2 separate regions of the Homo sapiens genome follow, and region 1 is linked to region 2. The links are contacts of gene promoters, found by promoter capture Hi-C in blood cells and fetal thymus (Javierre and others, 2016). All regions are on one chromosome and are shown on one strand. The core of a region is centred on a gene start or on the middle of the fragment in contact, and the rest is flanking DNA. Distances in the headings are between cores, read along the strand shown.

Region 1 (2,700 bases), core at 41-2,540, 400 kb after region 2:
ATCCATGGAAGAACAAAAGGAAATAAGGAGTTAGGTAGGATTCCGGGGCAGAGGAAAAAGCCAGCGCAAGGGCTCAGAGATCAGATAGAATATGGGCCACATGAGAACCTGCCTGCAGAAGAGATGAGGCAGCAAATTTCCCTAAGCCCTATTTGAGGCATCTCTCGAAACCTGTGGCCAGGCAACCTGCATTTAAATGTACTCAGTAAAATCTGCGGAACTGAATCCAAACTCACAAAGGGTACAGGACACACTTCAGGTCTCCTTTCTCCTTCCCCCAACCAACCAACCAACCAATCAACCAACCAACCACCCAAACAGAAAACCATGATGAGGCTGAGTATTAAGAAAGAGAACAAGCCACAGAAATCTTAATTCATCTAGGCCTTCGCAGCAGCTTTTACAATATGCTAAAGTGCTTTGTGATATTAAATTCAAAAGCAGGGCCCAGGTGAGGTGGCTCATGCCTGTAATCCCAACACTTTGGGAGGCCAAGGTGGTGAATCACCTGAGGTCAGGAGTTCAAGACCAGCCTGGCCAACATGAAGAAACCCTCTCTACTAAAAATACAAAAATTATCTGGGCGTGGTGGTGGGCACCTGTAATCCCAGCTACTCAGGAGAATTGCTTGAACCCGGCAGGCGGAGGCTGCAGTGAGCCAAGATCGTGCCACTGCACCCTAGCCTGGGTGACAGAGTGAGACTTCATCTCAAAAAAGCTTCAAAACAACAAAAGTAGGCAAGAAAGCTAAGGAACTAACAAAGACTCTATGAGAAAAACAGTGTCAGACATCATGGGGGCAGGGGTGGGTTGGGGAGGAGTGTTTACAGGAGTGCTCTTCCTTTGGGAAAACCCCAAAAATAAACACTCCGATATCTGAATGTTTAGTTCATCCTAAGAAGTTTGTAGGGAGCAGAGGGTGGGAGGTTGGGAAAGCGAGAAGCAGAGAATGAGTTAAAGTCAAATTTGGGAGTTTTATGAACTGAAGTTCACTTGAGAAACAAGATAAAGCATCACAAAAATTGTAAGGTACATTTACGATGGGGAAACAGTAACTTTCTGAAAAAAATCTCTTTTTGATTGTGCAAAGTGAGGCCACAGGTAATAAACTTTCACAGGATGATGATAATAAAAATTTGCATTTGGTGCTTTCTTCATTGGCCTCATTTCTCCTACACTTTCTAATTTAAGATTCTTACTCATTGAGATGCTATCTGTTGGTTGCGTGTGCAGCCATGGACTAAAAGGGAAAATGTCATTCTTTTGAACTTACACTTTAATTTTTAATTAAGGTTCAAATCAGAGTATGATCAATGCTGAGTCTCAGCTAATGTCTTTGAGGCAGTGGACTGAGGACTTTTTTTAGTTATTACTGAAATATCCACATCATTTAAGCAATAAAGCAGCCAAGAAAATGTGACCCAAGTTAAAACAACAATGGAATGCTAGAACTGATAGAAAAAAATAAAAGAAAGAAGACTGGTCAAGTTAGGAGAGGGGTCCCTTATTTGTAAAATCTATGAGTAACAGCAAACAGGGAACATTTGTGGGTCCTCATACACCATGTTTCATCCCATAAAGAACAAGATGAGATTTGCTAACTCCACCAGAAGGTTAGGAAGGAGGGCATCTGTTTGTTTGTGCCATTGGATACTGGACTTCCAACAATCCCAGGCTCCTAGTCATGGCAGATGCAGTAAAACATCTATGGAAGAGGTGGCCTGAACCTTAAACACTGATCTCTCTTCTTGCTAGGAACAAGGTAGAAATTCTGGACTTTCTGTGGCCTGGAAATAAAAAGCAGAGAGTCTCACCTAAGATCCCCTATGCTGTCTCCAGACCAGACTCTAAAACCAAGAGGGGCAAGCTTAAAGGAAAGAGAAATCAATGTATTTGTATATCTTTCTCAACTTGATGAGTGTGAACAATTCCCCTAGAGAACAAATTTTTGTGTATAATTAAACATGGAAATGCTATGTTTTCCAATCAACAGCCAATCAGTCCATGATACTCTGAATATCATTACTGGGAGCTGTGATTTCCCTGCAAATTGCTTTCTCAGTTGCATTTTAAGACTCCATTTCATAAGACTATACTGACAGACAGGGAAAAAAGTTTGCTCTAACGTGGATCCCAAGCTTACCATGAACCTTCCAGGTAGGCATTGAGGCCTTTGCGGATGACATGGCCCAAGTAGCCATTTTTCTCAGCTACATGTTTTGCCCATCTGAAAAAAAAAAGGGAAGAGAAAATACGCAAACCATGGCAAATTTAATAAAATGTTTTTCTTCATATGCTCTCAATAAATCCCACTTGGGGAATATTTTGCTAGTTAGAATTTTTATAGAGCAACAAACCAGAACTGAATGTTAAGGTAAAGAAAATGCATTCTGAGAGCTTTTCATTTAGTGCCCTTTCTTATGAATGATTAGGAGTTGTCTTTTATGGAAACAAAGACATGTAAGATACATAATGAAATATATCCACCAATATGAAAAAATATAATCTCTACCAAGAGTTCTAGTACTCTATTAAGTCATGTTTACTGACTTATTATTAGCTTTCCCTATTTTGCTTTGTTCTCTAATTTATTAGGGGTTTATTAGTAATGAGCTAGTCTGTTATAATCTTTAGATTTATAACTACTAAAATAATAGTTTAAGAATGCATAACTAAAAAGCTAACAGAAGGGGAAGTAGA
Region 2 (2,700 bases), core at 164-2,663:
TTAGGGAGGTCATAGCTGTGGGAACTGTCAACAGGTTGACTCATTTAAATGTGTCCTACATAAAGCAACATCAGATGAGTTCTGATTTACAAGTCTGCCAGGCTGGCCTGTGAGCCTCTGGGCAGAGTTCCCGTCCCATGCATTGCTGTAGCCTCAGTTCCTCCACATAGTAAATGCCCAAGTACCTATAGAAGAAATCGTGTGTGAGCCCACACTCTTTTTTTATATTTTAGAGACGGAGTCTGGCTCTGTTGCCCAGGCTGGAGTGCAGTGGCACAATCTCGGCTCACTGCAAGCTCCGCCTCACTGCAAGCCCCGCCTCACTGCAAGCTCCGCCTCACTGCAAGCTCCGCCTCCCGGGTTCACGCCATTCTCCTGCCTCAGCCTCCCCAGTAGATGGGACTACAGGTGCCCGCCACCATGCCTGGCTACTTTTTTGTATTTTTTAGTAGAGACGGGGTTTCACCATGTTAGCCAGGATGGGCTCTATCTCCTGTCCTTGTGATCCGTCCGCCACGGCCTCCCAAAGTGCTGGGATTACAGGCGTGAGCCACCGCGCCCGGCCCTGAGCCCACACTCTTTATTCGTTATGACGGTGCTGCAACTACCAATAAGTTGTGAGGGTTAAATGGGATGAGATGTCACAGTATTATTTGCCTGTTAGGGAGGTTTTAGGGCACGCGCCTCTTCTCTCCAAATTGGAATCACCCAAAGAGTTTTAGTAAATACTGGGCCCATCCAGGGTTAATTTTCTTCTAATTGGTTTGGGGTGCTGCTTGGACAGGGGGACTTTTAAAATTCTATACTGACCCACCAGGACTGACATGAGAACTACTCGCTTAGTAACTGTTAGAGGAGGCGCCAGCTGATCAGGACCTAAAGTTCATATTCTTTTTCATCTCCCCGTTGTCGCTGAAGCCTACCCCATAAACCCCTACCGTCCCTTTGCCCACAGCAGAGAATTTCCGGGAAAACGGGAAAGGTATGCAAGCATGCCCACACACGTGCACACACGGGTTCCCAAAAGACCTGCGTGTGGCCGCAGGGGCCTGCCCCGCCCTTCTCGGGCCCTTTCAGGTCCCGGCGCCCAGCGATCCCACCAGCACCTGGGTCCGGCGCGCGGCTCCCTCCCTCTCCGCGCCCCTCGGGGCTCCCTGCCCCGCCCGCGTGCCCCACCCTTCCTAGCTCTGCCCCATCGCTGCTCCCTGCCCCGCCCACGGGCCCCATCCTACCCCCACCTCGATCCGCCCCTCGCTCCTCCCTGCCCCGCCCACCGCGCCCCGTCCCTGTCCGCCCCTTCTGGCTCTCAGCACCCCCAAGACCGGTGCGCGCCCCGCCCCTCCTCCTCCTCTCGCGAGGCAGTCCCGACGCCGGAAGTGCCTGGAGCGCGCGACAGCGGCGGGGCGGGGCGGCCTGGAGGCTGTGGCGCGCGGCCGGCAGAGGGAGGGGAGAGGCCACTGGGGCCGTGTTAGTCTGCCGGTGGGGACTCTTGCAGGTACAGGCGCGGTCGGGGCTCCTCGTGGAGAGCCGGGGGCTCCTGCCGGCCTCTGACTGGGGTGTCGTTGCAGGGCCGTCCCCATGTTGCGTTTTCCGACCTGTTTCCCATCCTTCCGGGTGGTGGGAGAGAAGCAGCTCCCGCAGGAGATTATTTTCCTGGTCTGGTCGCCCAAGCGGGATCTCATTGCTTTGGCCAACACAGCTGGCGAGGTGAGTGAGCCGGCGGGAGCCCGCCTGTGCTGGGTCTGCTCCCGGGGGGCCCAAGAACACCGAGCCCGAGCCTGTTCATTCGGGCCACAGGCGGCCGGAGCCTCAGTTTCCCCTTCTGCAGACATGGCTGGCCACCTGCTACCCCTTCCCTGCCTCCCAGGACGGCAGTAAACTTTAAGTATATATGCGAAAGGTGATGTCTGTGCTATTTTCGGTACTTTTATGGCTAAAGTAACAGTTTTCACACAGCTTAACACCGTCACGCAATCCTGCTTCCCCAAGTCTTCTTCACTCATTGGTTTATTAGTTAAATGAACTTTTTAAAAAAGCCCACTATGTGCTGCTCATGAGCTAGACATAATGGTAGATGCAGGGACCCTGCCCTAAGTTTGCTTACAGTTTTAATAGCAGTAGGAAGAGTTATTGTCAAACTTCAGCTGCAAATGTGCCTGCATGTAGCTGCCACACAGGATATATTTAAGAACCTGGCTTCTCTTGTCCACGTTTTATAGTACGGGTTGGATAACCACCCTCCACTAAAAATACCTCTAAATTGGACAAGGAAGGCATGCATTGGATTCCAGACAGAACGTGCATGGGTGTTATCAGCATTTCTTGTTCACATAAAACTTCATCGAGTATAAACCAGTTGTACCCAACTTTCTGCTGAGAGTTATTACCTGCCAGCCATTTTGTAAGGAAACCTTCACCTGTGCATCTTTCCGCCTCTGGCTTGAGAGTTATCTGGCCATGTGAGAGTTGTATAGAGCCAAATTTGGAAACTAGGTGATAAGGAAATCTTAGCACCCTGCAGACTGTAGTCTGCACCATGTTATCTACCATGATCCAGTCGCCAGGGTATTGATGTCTAATTTTTCAGGGCCCTCCATGAAATCTAGCTAGTCTCCCTCCGCTGCCGGGATGCTTTGAAACTCTGTTGTGGCTCTAGAGAGCAGCAGGTGGTACCGTCACAGAAGTAGGAGGGAAGGTAGA

What was found. Contacts are between HindIII fragments. The CHiCAGO score rates a contact against its expected background, and 5 or more counts as called.
Region 1: a fragment that was not itself captured here is called in contact with the fragment with the promoter of ANAPC4 in region 2 in 1 of 17 cell types (endothelial precursors); the score reaches 5.9 in endothelial precursors.

The regions. Positions count from the first base shown.
Region 1 is chr4:25,774,134-25,776,833 of GRCh38, forward strand. It overlaps SEL1L3 (SEL1L family member 3), which reads right to left. Exons shown (of 24, transcript NM_015187.5): 17 at 2,144-2,227. Among named protein-coding and RNA genes, the nearest start is that of SEL1L3, 88 kb to the right of the region's middle. The HindIII fragment of the contact is 1,149 bases long and covers 717-1,865 here.
Region 2 is chr4:25,375,850-25,378,549 of GRCh38, forward strand. ANAPC4 (anaphase promoting complex subunit 4) reads left to right here and starts at 1,414. Exons shown (of 29, transcript NM_013367.3): 1 at 1,414-1,495; 2 at 1,569-1,707. The coding sequence starts at 1,579. RefSeq lists a silencer at 1,117-1,536 and enhancers at 1,657-1,716, 1,747-1,816. The HindIII fragment of the contact is 5,076 bases long and covers 1-2,700 here.